4 separate regions of the Homo sapiens genome follow, and all the other regions are linked to region 1. The links are contacts of gene promoters, found by promoter capture Hi-C in blood cells and fetal thymus (Javierre and others, 2016). All regions are on one chromosome and are shown on one strand. Each heading gives the region's core, a stretch centred on a gene start or on the middle of the fragment in contact. The rest is flanking DNA. Distances are from core to core; before and after follow the strand shown. Region 1 holds the start of ACTL9 (actin like 9). Region 2 has its middle 2.7 kb from the start of OR7G3. Region 3 overlaps OR1M1 (olfactory receptor family 1 subfamily M member 1). Region 4 overlaps MUC16 (mucin 16, cell surface associated).

Region 1 (3,324 bases), core at 504-3,003:
AGGTGGAGGCTTATCTATGACTCATAGGAGGAGGTGATATTTCTAACAATAGCCTTGAGGTAGTGAACTCCCCATCTCTGGGAGTGTGTAAATGGGAAGGGCACTTGTCAGAGGTGGTCTGGGGAGGGGGTGTCCCAACCCAAGGGTGCCTGGGGAGGGGCACAGATCACAGGAGGATGGGTTGACAGGATTAGAACTTAGTGGTCTGTTGGGAGTTATTCATGGGGAAGGTGGGTTTAGGGGGTCAGGATTGGGGTGTCTCAGGGCATGCATCACAGGAGGTGAGTTAGGTCAGCCTGTGGGGCGAGGTGCCCAGGAGTGGATGGGGCAGGCCCTGGAGGAAGGACAGGACAGAGCCGGCTGTAGCAGAGGCTTTACTGCCCCCACGCCCTCCCCAGCTCTGCCCTGGTCAGTAGCATTTGCGGTACACGATATAGGGACCCTGTTCCTCGTACTGCTCCCGCAGGACCCAGCAGGACTGGAAGGCGCGCAGGGAGGCCAGGATGGAGCCCCCGATCCATACGGAGAAATTCCTGGTGGGCTGGGCAGCCACCACCACGTGGGTCTCGGCTGGCAGAGCGCGCAGCAGCTCTGCCCGGAAGCGACCCTCGAAGCCGGTGAAGAGCGAGGACCCACCGCAGAGAAGCACGTTTTGGGCCAAGTCCGCGCGCATCTCCAGTGACAACTTGCGGAGACTCTGCTTGGCCATGGTGGAGAGGCCGACGGGTGACAGCCCCGGGACCTCTGGGGGGTTGAACAGCAGCTCCGGACACTGGAACAGCTCCTTGCCCAGGGTGACCGTGCGCCCATCGGGCAGCTTCAGAGTCCGCTTGTACTCCTGCTCCGGCCGGGCCTGCTCCTTCTGGAAGTCGGAGGCCACGTAGCAATAGTGGTGCTTAATGTTCTCCACTAGGTCCAGGTCCTGCTGTCCCAGGGGCAGGCCGGCCTGGAGCAGCATCTCCGCCAGGAAGGCGGTCAGGTTGTTGCCCGCCAGGTCCAGACGCTCCGTGGCGTGGAGCAGGTTGTAGCCCTGGAAGACGGGCACTGTGTAGGTGACCCCGTGTCCCGTGTCCACCACCAGCCCGCTGACACGACCGTGGGCGTAGACAGACAGCACCGACTGCGATGCCACGTACATGGCTGGGGAGCGCAGCGACTCGAAGGCCACCTCCACTAGCTTCTCGCGGTTGGTGGCCGGGCTGAAGGGTGGGTCGGAGAACAGCAGCGGGTGGTCGTGGGTGGCCACTCGGAGGTCGTGCTCCAGCAGGTGGCGCCAGATGAGCTCGGCGGCATCCCAGTCCACGACGATGCCGCTGCGCAGGGGTTGCACCAGCGTCAGCTCTGGGAGCACGCGGGCTGCCTCGCCGATGAACGTCTGCAGCCCGGACTGCCCCGAGGTGGCGGGTTTCTTGGGCTGGCAGCCCAGGATGGTGGCCACGGTGTAGGTGGGGCTGGCCTGCCCAGCAAAACCTACCTTACAGGTGCCTGTGCCCATGTCAATAACCACCGCGCCGGTCTTTGGTGGCAGCCTGTCGGCCACCATGCCGGGGGAGTCCCGCTGCAGGGGCTTGTTCACCACGTTGGGACTGGGGTTTGGGCCGGGCCTGGGGGCCTCCAGGGAGGACTGGGATTCCGAGGACTTGGGGCGACTTGCATCCATGGTTGCGGGACGCCAGGTGAGGGGGCTTTTCCTCTGGGGTTGGGGTTGCGGGGAGAAGAGGTTGAGGCCCGGCCAGTGGGGAGGGCAGGCAGACAGGGGGAGGGGTGGGCCCGCAATCTATGACGTCACGGTGCCCCTTCAGTCTTCTTAAGACATCACAATGCAGCCAAGAGGATGGGTCCCTGCCCAGCCCTGCCTGCCCAAAGGCTGTCATCTCTTCTCTGAAGAGCCAAATTTGGAGGAGGAGATGAGCATCTCAGAGCAGGGCCCTCTTAACACATTTCTGTCGGATGCGCTAGAAGCTAATACGATGGCACCTGGTTTTTGAGAAAAGACAAGCTTTTTGTTGCATGTCAACCCACTGGGAGCTAGGAATCCAGCACAAGTCTGTTTCTCAGCTGGCTTTAAGGCAGTAATTTTATTAGAAAAGTTCTGGGGCCGGGGGCTGTGGCTCACACCTGTAATCCCAGCACTTTGGGAGACCGAGGTGGGAGATCACCTGAGGTCAGGAGTTCGAGACCAGCCTGGCCAACATGGTGAAACCCGTCTCTACCAAAAAATACAAAAATTAGCCTGGCATGGTGGCGCATGCCTGTGGTCCCAGCTACTGGGGAGGCTGAGGCAGGAGAATCACTTGAACCCAGGAGGTGGAGGTTGAAGTGAACCAAGATCATGCCACCGCACTCCAGGCTGGGGGATGGAGTGAGACTCTGTCTCAAAAGAAAAAGAAAATAAAAGAAAAAAAATTAGCCAGGCATGGTGGCACATGCCTGTAGTCCCAGCTACTAGGGAGGCTGAGGCAGGAGAATCTCTTGAACCCGGGAGGTGGAGGTTGCAGCGAGCCAAGATCATGCTACTGCACTCCAGCCTGTATGACAGAGCGAGACTCATCTCAAAACAAACAAACAAACAAACAAAGAAACAAACAAAAAACCCTCATAAGTGGAAGGCATTTCAGCAAGTTGTTTCTTTTTTGATCTGCCATTCTGCAAGCTCAAACATTTCTTTGGGGCATGGTTTCACTAAAAACATGCAAAATTGGTTTCTCTAACTCTTTGGGCCACGCTTTCAGGAAGACCCAGGAATCCTCCTCTGGGTACCTCGCCATGAAGCTATTTACAGCCTAGTGGCAGAGAGCTTGCCACAGGCCTCCCTAGAATATTAGAATATTCCTCCTCAGAATATTAATTAGAAGGTGGGGCGGGCTAGCATGGCTTCCTGGTTTCCAAATGGAGACAGAGGCCAGCCTTGGTTGGGGATGGAGAGAGGCAGGGAGAGACAGGAACACCCCTGTCCTAGATTCTTTGCTTCCTCTGCTATATTCACTGCCTGAATCATTCTCCCTGTCCCATTCCTGCCAAGAAGGAATTTGCCTCTTCAAATCTCAGTCTGATGCCACCTCCTCCTGGAAGCCAACCCTGATTTCTACTCTGTACTCCAACTAGATGAGGGATGGGGGAAGTCTGCCTTCTCTCCAGGGGTTGTTACCTGCTTCCTCCTGGCAGGAGAGGGGCTCAGTGAGATACAAGAAGGGGTTTCAGTATAGATAAAAGGGGAGAGGGTGCATTTGGGAGGAAGGAATTATCTCAACAATAAATAGCAGGCTTCAAAATGCATTAGGAGAGTTGCTTCAAGACCATGGCTGTTTTTGGTGATATCAGATA
Region 2 (3,324 bases), core at 420-2,919, 430 kb after region 1:
GTAGCTGGGACTACAAGCAAGCGTCACCACACCCGGATAATTTTTGTATTTTTAGTAGAGACAGTGTTTCACCATGTTGGGCAGGCTGGTCTTGAACTCCTAACCTCGTGATCCACCCGCCTCGGCCTCCCAAAGTGCTGGGATTACAGGCATCAGCCACCGTGCCTGACTGCAGTAGCCATTATTTTATTCTGATTTTATGAGATCAGCTCTTTTGGATTCTACACATGGTTGAGATCATGCAGTATTTGTCTTTCTGTACCTGGCTTATTTCACTTAGCATAATGTTCTCCAGGTTCCTCCATGTTGTGGCGAATGACAGAATTTCCTTCTTTTTAAAGGGTGCATAGTACTCTATCATATACCACATTTTCTTTTTCTTTTCCAGACAAAGTCTCACTCTGTTGCCCAGGCTAGAGTGCAGTGGTGCGATCTCGGCTCACTGCAACCTCCGCCTCCTGGGTTCAAGTGATTCTCCTGCCTCAGCCTCCTGAGTAGCTGGGATTACAGGCATACGTCATCATGCCTGGCTAATTTTTGTATTTTTAGTGGAGACACGGTTTCACCATGTTGGCCAGGCTAGTCTTGAACTCCTGACCTCAAGTAATCTACCTACCTCAGGCTCCCAAAGTGCTGGGATTACAGGCGTGAGCCACCGTGCCTGCCATACCACATTTTCTTTATCCACTTATATGTTGATGGACATTCAGGTTGATTACATTTCCTGGCTATTGTGACTAATACTGCAATGAACATGAGAGTGCAGATATCTCTTCAGCATATTGATTTCAATTCCTTTGAAATTCAACAGCACAAACATAAATCAATATAACTATAGATAGTCAACCTAAATAACAGAAAGAGGCTATCTAAAAGAAAATGATGTTTATTGCCAAAGAAAGCATTGCAATAGCGATACGCGTGCCATCATAAACTATGTATGCATTCAAGGAGGTAAAGGAAGACAAAGTTTTTTAATGGAAAAATGAGGAAGGTTACATAATTGTTTTGAAATAATTATCCTTCACAGTAATAACTAATAACAAGGGTGATGCCAGTCTGAAGCTGGACAGGCAGTTGCTGGGCAGATGTACTTGCAGAAATATTTTTTGTGTAAGGTTGCAACAGCCTTTTGTGCAAGGTTGTGGTTTTTGTCGTCTCGTGATAGTTTTTGTCGTCTCGTGATAGTTTTTGTAGTCTTGTGATAGTTTTTGTTATTAGGCATGCAAGTGAAATAAATCTCTTCATGGCCTTCCCTAGCTTTACTTGTCAGGATGTTTTTGTTTTTTTCATTTTTGTTTGTTTGTTTGTTTTTCATGAGATGGAGTCTTGCTCTGTCGCCCAGGCTGGAATGCAGTGGTGCGATCTTGGCTCACTGCAACCTCCGCCTCCCAGGTTCAAGCGATTCTCATGCCTCAGCCTCCTGAGTAGCTGGGATTACAGATATGCGCCACAACGTCTGGCTAATTTTTGTATTTTTCATAGAGATGGGGTTTCACCATGTTGGCCAGGCTGGTCTCGAACTCCTGACCTTGTGATCCGCCCACTTCAGCCTATCAAAGTGCAGACTTTTTTGATAGCCGCTACACCCAGCCTTTTTTTTTTTTAATAAGTGACTCCATTTTGATTCTGACAATTTTAACAATATATATACCAAGTACAGTCAGCCTTCCATATCTGCCAGTACCACATTCATGGACTCAACCAACTGTGGATCAAAAATATTAAAAATATTAAAGAAAATTTTAAAAATATTAAATAAGAATATTACAAAAATACAATATTAAGTAATACAACTATTTACATAGGATTAACATTATGCTAGGTAATATAAGTAATCTAGAAATGATTTAAAGTATAGGCGACCTGGGCACAGTGGCTCACACTGCTTAATCCCAGCACTTTGGAAGGCTGAGGCAGAAGGATTGTTTGAGGCCAGGAGTTTGAGGCTGCAGTGAGTTATAATCACACCACTGTAGTTCAACCTCGGCAACAGAGCAAGGCTCTCTCTAAAAAAGAAATTAATCATTTAATATTAAAATTAAAAATTAATTACTTGATTTTTAAATTGTAAATAAATTACTTAATTTTTAAATTAAAAATAAATTAGCTAGCTGGGCATGGTGGCTCATGCCTGTAATCCCAGCACTTTGGGAGGCTGAGGCGGGCAGATTACCTGAGGTCAGGAGTTCAAGGCCCGCCTGGCCAACATGGTGAAACTCTGTCTCTACTAAAAATACAAAAATGAGCCAGGCACAGTAGCAGGCGCCTGTAATCCCAGCTATTCAGGAGGCTGAGGCAGGAGAATCGCTTGAGCCCCAGAGGTGGAGGTTGCAGTAAGCCGAAATTGAGCCACTGCACTCTAGACTGGGCGACAGAGCAAGACTCTGTCTCAATAAATAAATAAATAAATAAATAAATAAATAAGTTTTTAAATTTTTAATTAAATTTAATTTTTTTTAAAAAAAGACTTAGTATTGGATAGACCAGTAGGGTGACTATAGTTCAAAATAATCCATTGTATATTTCAAAATACCTAGAAGAGAACAATTGGAATGGTTGGAGCATAAAGATAAGACAAATATTTAAGGTGATGGATATCTAAAGTAACAAATCCTTGCAGATTATACAAATGTATTACACTATCACATGCATCCTGAAACAATGTACATCTCTTATGCATTGATACAAAAATTTAAAAAAAGCCAGGTGTGGTGGCATGCACCTGCAGTCTCAGCTACTCGTCAGGCTGAGTCCAGAGGATCGCTTTAGCCCAGGAATTCGAGGCAGCAGTGAGCTGTGATCACACCACTGCACTCCAGCCTGGGCAACAAAGTGAGAGACTGTCTCAAAAATCAATTAGTCAGTCAATCAATCCAAAAAGAACTCAAGTCCACGTGGTCCGATTCCAAAACTATCACCCTGAACCATCTGATCTCTGGTCTCATGTATTCAAAGACATTGGTCAGGTGGGGCACAGTGGCTCATGCCTGTAATCCCAGCACTTTGGGAGGCTGAGACGGGCAGATCACCTGAGGTCAGGAGTTCGAGACCATCCTGGCCAATGTGGTGAAACCCCGTCTCTATTAAAAATAGAAAAATTAGCTGGGCTTGGTGGCACGTGCCTGTAATCCCAGCTACTCCGGAGGCTGAAGCAGGAGAATCGCTTGAACCCAGGAGGCGGAGGTTGCAGTGAGCCAAGATTGCGTCACTACACTCCAGTCTGGTCAACAGAGCGAGACTCCATCTCAAAAAACAAACAAACAAACAAAAACAAAAACAAAAACAGAAAACCCCAAAGACATTAGTCAGGCTTTCAAGACT
Region 3 (3,324 bases), core at 326-2,825, 400 kb after region 1:
TTCTGCGACCTCACTCCCATCCTCCGACTTTCGTGCACGGACACCTCTGTGAATAGGATCTTCATCCTCATTGTGGCAGGGATGGTGATAGCCACGCCCTTTGTCTGCATCCTGGCCTCCTATGCTCGCATCCTTGTGGCCATCATGAAGGTCCCCTCTGCAGGCGGCAGGAAGAAAGCCTTCTCCACCTGCAGCTCCCACCTGTCTGTGGTTGCTCTCTTCTATGGGACCACCATTGGCGTCTATCTGTGTCCCTCCTCGGTCCTCACCACTGTGAAGGAGAAAGCTTCTGCGGTGATGTACACAGCAGTCACCCCCATGCTGAATCCCTTCATCTACAGCTTGAGGAACAGAGACCTGAAAGGGGCTCTCAGGAAGCTGGTCAACAGAAAGATCACCTCATCTTCCTGACCACCAGGACTCAGGAACTTCTGGGGGGTAGAATATATACATCTGGGAGTCTTGGGCTAACATCTGGAATTGCATGAGTTGAAGAGTAGGCACTTTGAATTTTATTATTATTATTATTATTTAGAGATGGGGTCTCACTATGTTGCCCGTGCTGGAGTGCAGTGGCGTGATCATAGATCACTGCAGCTTCAAACTTCTCTCTCTGTGTGCATTGTTTTACTAGAGACAGGGTCTCACTAATTTGGCCAGGCTGGTCTGGAACTCCTGGGCTCAAGCAGTACTTCCCCCTCAGCCTCCTAACATCCTAGGATTACAGGTGTGAGCTACCACGCCGAGCCTCACTTTGAATTTTTTGTTTGTTTTTGTTTTTTGAGACAGAGTCTCGTTCTGTTGCCCAGGCTGGAGTGCAGTGGCATGATCACGGCTCATTGCAGCCTTGACCTCCCTGGCTGAAGCAATCCTCCCACCTCAGCCTTCCGAGTAGCTAGGACCATAGGCACATACCACCATGCTCAGCTAATTTTTGTATCTTTTGTACAGACAGGGTTTTGCCATACTACCCAGCCGCAGAAGTTTCACGGGAAGTCTCAGGATGGTCTGGTAACTGTTTTTCTTTTTGTTTTCTTTTTTGTTTTTGAGACAGAGTCTCATTCTGTCACCCAGGCTGGAGTGCAATGGCATGATCTCTGCTCACTGCAACCTCCGCCTCTGGGTTCAAGTGATCCTCCTGCCTCACCCTCCAGACTAGCTGGAACTACAGGCACCCATCACCATACCCGGCTAATTTTTGTATTTTTGGTGGAGACAGGGTTTTACCATGTGGGCCAGGCTGTTCTCGACCTCCTGACCTCAAATGATCCACCCACCTTGGCCTCCCAAAGTGCTGGGATTACAGGCGTGAGCCACCAAGCCTGGCTGGAAAGGCCATTTGAGGACACAGCGAAAGGGGGTCTATCTGCCACGGAAGAAAGACTTCACCAAAAACCAATCCCAACGGCACGTCGATCTTGGGCTTCTGACCCTCAGAACCATGAGACAATCCACTTCACTTATTTAGCCACGCAGTCTGCGGTGTTTTGTTATAACCAGCCCTGGCCGAATAACACAGTGACTGTGAGGGGAGGAGTCTTAGGAAGATGTCAACACGTGAAGGAGTGAAATGCCGCCATGTGGTTCTGTGGCTGGACCGACTCTGTCTCCAAACTCCGTTAGGAAAGATAATCATTCTGGGGCTCTGTTGCCCAGGCTGGAGTGCAGCGGCATGATTATAGCTCACTGCAGTCTTGACCTCCTGGGCTCAAGCAGTCCTCCCACCTCAGCCTCCCAAGTAGTTGGGACCAGAGGCATGCAGCACCATGCCCGGCTAATTTATTTTTATTTGTATATATTTTTTTGGTAGAGATGGGGTCTCACTATGTTGTCCAGGCTGCTCTCAAACTCCTGAGCTCAAGCCATCCTCCCATCTCAGCCTCTCAAAATGCTGGGATTACAGGTGTGAGCCACCACACCTGGCCAAAATTTTTTTTTTTTTTTTTTGAGACAGAGTCTCACTCTGTTGCCCAGGCTGGAGTGTAGTGGCACTATCTCAGCTCACTGCAACCTCCACCTCCTGGGTTCATGCAATTCTCCGCCTCAGCCTCCCCAGTAGCTGGGACTACAGGAGCGCACCACCACACCCAGCTAGTTTTTTTGTATTTTTAGTAGAGACGGGATTTCACCATGTTGGCCAGGCTGGTCTTGAACTCCTGACCTCAGGTGATCCACCTGCCTTGGCCTCCCAAAATGTTGGGATTACAGACATCAGCCACCACGCCTGGCCCAATCATTGTTTTTACCCCTTGTCTTTATATGAGTCACTAATAAAGCAGAAGTGTCCCGGGTGCTGTGGCTTACACCTGTAATCCCAGCACTTTGGGAGGCCAAGGCAGGCAGATCACCTGAGGTCAGGAGTTCAAGACCAGCCTGGCCAACATGGCAAAACCCCATCTCTACTAAAAATATAAAAATTAGTCAGGTGTGGTGGGGCGTGCCTGTAATCCCAGCTACTCGGGAGGCTGAGGCAGGAGAATCACTTGAACCTGGGAGGCGGAGGTTGCAGTGGGCCGAGATGGCACCACTGCAACCTGCACTTCAGCCTAAGGGATGGAGCGAGACTGTCTCAAAATAAATAAATAAATAAATAAATAAGTTGAAGTGTCTCAAGTTGATATAATGTGGATGTTTCTCTCCTCCAGATCTTATGTTGAAATGTGATCCCCAGTGTCGGAGGTGAGGCCTAGGCAGAGGTGTTTGATTATGGGGGCAGATTCATCATGAAGAATTTAGTGCCCTCCCCATAGTAATGAGGAAGTTCTTGCTCTACTACTTCACAAAGACCCTGGCACTCCTCCCCTCTCTCTCTTCCTCTCTCACCATTTGACTTGCCAGCTCCCCTTGCCCTTCCACCGTGATTGGAAGCTTCCTGAGGTCTGCACCAGAAGTAGATGATGGCACCACCCTTCTTGTACAGTCTGCAGAACTGTGAGACAAATAAACCTCTTTTCTTTATAAATTACCCAGACTCTAGGCTGGGCTCAGTGGCTCACGCCTATAATCCCAGCACTTTGGGAGGCTGAGGCAGGCAGATCACCTGAGGTCAGGAGCTCAAAAGCAGTCTGGCCAACATGGTGAAACCCTGTCTCTACCAAAAATACAAAAATTAGCTGGGCGTGGTGGCGCACTCCTGTAATCCCAGCTTCTGGAGAGGCTGAGGCAGGAGAATCACTTGAACCCAGGGGGCAGAGGTTGCAGTGAGCTGAGACTGCACCACTGCACTCCTGCCTGGGCGACAAGAGCGACACTCTGTCTCAAAATAAATAAATAAATAAATAACCCAGACTCAGGTATTCCTTGTAGCAACACAAACACTGATAT
Region 4 (3,324 bases), core at 220-2,719, 300 kb after region 1:
CATCTGGCTAGTTTTTGTATTTTTAGTAGAGAACATGGGGTTTCACCATGTTGGCCAGGCTGTTCTTGAACTCCTGACCTCAAGTGATCCACCCGCCTTGGCCTACCAAAGTGCTGGGATTACAAGGTGTGAGCCACTGTGCCCAGCCCAAATCATCTCTTGAAGACTCATTTTCTTTCCTTCCTAAAATCAAGCCAATTGCAATCTTCCCAGAGCAGGAAACAAAATGCACAGTGGGAGGAAAATGAAAGAAGTGGACTCAGTGGGACTCAAGTCCCAATTACTCACTGTGTGATCTGGGGCAAGTCACTTAACCTCTCTGAGCCTTGTCTCCTCATATGCCCAACGGGGATAACAGCAGAGGGCTGTTGAGATGATGCAGTGATGTGATCCACCATGCAGGGTGAAGGAATTAGGACTTAATAAACTCCTGTTACTGTTTTTTTTTGGGGCGGTGGGGCGGTTTTTTGTTGTCATTTTGTTTTTTTATTTTTGTTTTTTGTTTGTTTGTTTTGAGACGGAGTCTTGCACTGTCGCCAAGCTGGAGTGCAATGGCGTGATCTCGGCTCACTGCAACCTCTGCCTCCTGGGTTCAAGCAATTCTCCTGCCTCAGCCTCCCAAGCAGCTGGGACTACAGGTGTGCGCCACTACGCCTGGCTAATTTTTGTATTTTGAGTAGAGATGGGGTTTCACTGTGTTAGCCAGAATGGTCTTGATCTCTTGACCTCGTGATCCGCCTGCCTCAGCCTCCCAAAGTGCTGGGATTACAGGCGTGAGCCACCGCCCAGCCTGTTACTGGTTTTTATTATTTATTATTATTTAATTATTATTATTATTATTATTTATTTTATTATTACCTACCCACGGAGCTGATGAGTGACGCCGGGGAGGAAGGGTCGTGGGTCAACTGCCTGGTGGCTCCAAGTGTTCCTTGGTCTGTGGTTTGGGCAAAGACCACTGCGTCGAAAGGCAGCCCTGTGGAGGAAGAACCAAGTTGGTTATCCCAGCAGGAAGTAGAACGAAAAACATAAAAAAAAAATTTCTTCTGGACTTGCTCTTCTTTCCATAGGAATCTCTGCATAGTGACTCGTTCATTTACCATTTCATTTATTTAATATTTATTCCAGACCCTCAGTCACTCATTCATCCAACCAGCAAATATGTCTTGAGCACCTTTTATACGACAGCTGATTCTGAAACCAACCCGATAGTCTCATAGACAGTATTTATATACCTATTTAAATACTTGAAACTGACATTTGTTATTGTTTAACTATTTTAGGTTTGGGGCTACGTGTGAAGGTTTGTTATATAGGTAATCTCATGTCACGGGGTTTGTTGTACAAATGATTTTATCACCCAGGTATGAAGCCTAGTACCCAATAGTTATTTTTTCTGCTCCTCTCTCTCCTCCTAACGCTTACCATGAAGTAGACCCCAGTGTTTTTTATTCCCTTCTTTGTGTTCATGAGTTATCATCATTTAGCTCCCACTTCTAAGTGAGAACATGCAATATTTGGTTTTCTGTTCCTGGGTTAGTTTGCTAAGGATAATGGCCTCCAGCCCCATCCATGTTCCCGCAAAAGCAATGATCTTGTTCTTTTTTATGGCTGCATAGTATTCCATGGTGTATATGTATCACATTTGCTTTATCCAATCTGTCATTGATGGGCGTTTAGGTTGATTCCATTGTCTTTGCTATTGGGAATAGTGCTGCAATGAACATTCACGTGTATATGTCTTTATGGTAGAATGATTTATATTTCTCTGGGTATATACCCAATAATGAGATTGCTGGGTCAAATGGTAGTTCTACTTTTAGCTCTTTGAGGAATTGCCACACTGCTTTCCACAATAGTTGAACTAATTTACACTCCCACCAACAGTGTATAAATGTTCAATTTTCTCCACAACCTTGCCAGCATCTGTTATTTTTTGACTTTTTAATAATAGCCATTCTGACTATGGTGAGATGCTATCTCATTGTGGTTTTGATTTGCATTTCTTTAATGATCAGTGATAGTGAGCATTTTTTTCATATGCTTCTTGGCTACATGTATCTCTTCTTTCAAAAAGTGTCTGTTTTTTTTGTTTTTTGGTTTTTTTTTTTTGATACAGTGTCTCACTCTGTCGACCAGGCTGGAGTGCAGTAGTGATCGCGCCTCACAGCAACCTCCGCCTCCCAGGTTCAAGTGATTCTCCTGCCTCAGCCTCCTGAGTAGCTGGGATTACAGGCGTGCACCACCGTGCCCGGCTAATTTTTGTATTTTTAGTAGAGACAGGGTTTCACCATGTTGGTCAGGCTGGTCTCGAACTCCTGACATAGTGATCTGCCCGCCTTGGCCTCCCAAAGTGCTGGGATTGCAGTTGTGAGCCACCGTGCCCGGCCTTTGCCCACTTTTTAATGGTGTTGTTTGTTTTTCTCTTGTAAATTTACTTAAGTTCTCTATAGATGCTGGATATTAGACTTTTGTCAGGTGCATAGTTTACAAATATTTTCTCCCATTCTGTGGGAAACTTACATTTGTTTTATCTGAGTTCCTTCCTCATTAAAGGACCCCCAGTCCTCTCAAAAAGTATCAAAGAAAAGAAACTCAGCAGATCATCATATCCAGACAATGAGATGTCAGACCCCTCATTCCTCATGATTGCTTCCTGACCCCTCTTGATTTCCTGTTTTACTACACGTAGTCACATTTCTTCCCTGCTATATAAACCTGTAATTTTAGTTGGTCAGGGAGATGGATTTAAGACTGAGCTCCCATTTTCTCACTGCAGCCAAGGAGATTAAAGTCTTCTTCCTTGGTAATAATCGTTGTCTCAGTGATTGACTTTCTGTGTGGTGAGCAGCAGGACCTAGCCTGGACCCCTGGTGTTTTGGCAACAATTCCAAGTTTGGGGCACAGAGTGAGGAACAAGACAAGTCTTTACTCCCTCAAAAAGTTTATGTCCAGAACAGAAAACCAAATACTGCATGTTCTCACTCATAAGTGGGAGTTGAACAATGAGAACACATGGACACAGGTAGGGGAACATCACACACTGGGGCCTGTTGGGGGTTGGGGGGCTATAGGGGAGGTATAACATTAGGAGAAATACCTAATGTAGATGATGGGTTGATGGGTGCAGCAAACCACCATGGCACATGTATACGTATGTTTGTTAACCTGCACGTTCTGCACATGTACCCCAGAACTTAAAGTATAAAAAAAAAAGTTTACATCCTAGTGGAGAAAGCAGACAACGATTCATCCAACAGATAAATAATTAATGTCCTTGCAGAGAGTGAAGGGAATTTTGAAGTCACTCTACCAATGGGAGAG

The links. The method cuts DNA at HindIII sites, captures the fragments that hold promoters and counts their contacts. A CHiCAGO score of 5 or more calls a contact.
Region 2: a contact is called between a fragment that was not itself captured here and the fragment with the promoter of ACTL9 in region 1, in 1 of 17 cell types (endothelial precursors). The highest score is 6.4, in endothelial precursors.
Region 3: a fragment that was not itself captured here is called in contact with the fragment with the promoter of ACTL9 in region 1 in 3 of 17 cell types (endothelial precursors, M2 macrophages and erythroblasts); the score reaches 8.5 in endothelial precursors.
Region 4: a contact is called between a fragment that was not itself captured here and the fragment with the promoter of ACTL9 in region 1, in 1 of 17 cell types (M2 macrophages). The highest score is 6.5, in M2 macrophages.

Annotation. Positions count from the first base shown.
Region 1 is chr19:8,697,042-8,700,365 of GRCh38, forward strand. It overlaps ACTL9 (actin like 9), which reads right to left and starts at 1,754. Exons shown (of 1, transcript NM_178525.5): 1 at 359-1,754. The coding sequence starts at 1,660. The coding sequence ends at 410. The HindIII fragment of the contact is 13,278 bases long and covers 1-1,997 here.
Region 2 is chr19:9,122,629-9,125,952 of GRCh38, forward strand. No RefSeq gene overlaps it. Among named protein-coding and RNA genes, the nearest start is that of OR7G3, 2.7 kb to the right of the region's middle. The HindIII fragment of the contact is 3,883 bases long and covers 1-3,324 here.
Region 3 is chr19:9,093,776-9,097,099 of GRCh38, forward strand. It overlaps OR1M1 (olfactory receptor family 1 subfamily M member 1), which reads left to right. Exons shown (of 2, transcript NM_001004456.2): 2 at 1-1,894. The coding sequence ends at 411. Among named protein-coding and RNA genes, the nearest start is that of OR1M1, 8.4 kb to the left of the region's middle. The HindIII fragment of the contact is 2,582 bases long and covers 285-2,866 here.
Region 4 is chr19:8,993,133-8,996,456 of GRCh38, forward strand. MUC16 (mucin 16, cell surface associated) reads right to left here. Exons shown (of 94, transcript NM_001414686.1): 3 at 863-976. Among named protein-coding and RNA genes, the nearest start is that of MUC16, 71 kb to the right of the region's middle. The HindIII fragment of the contact is 6,614 bases long and covers 1-3,324 here.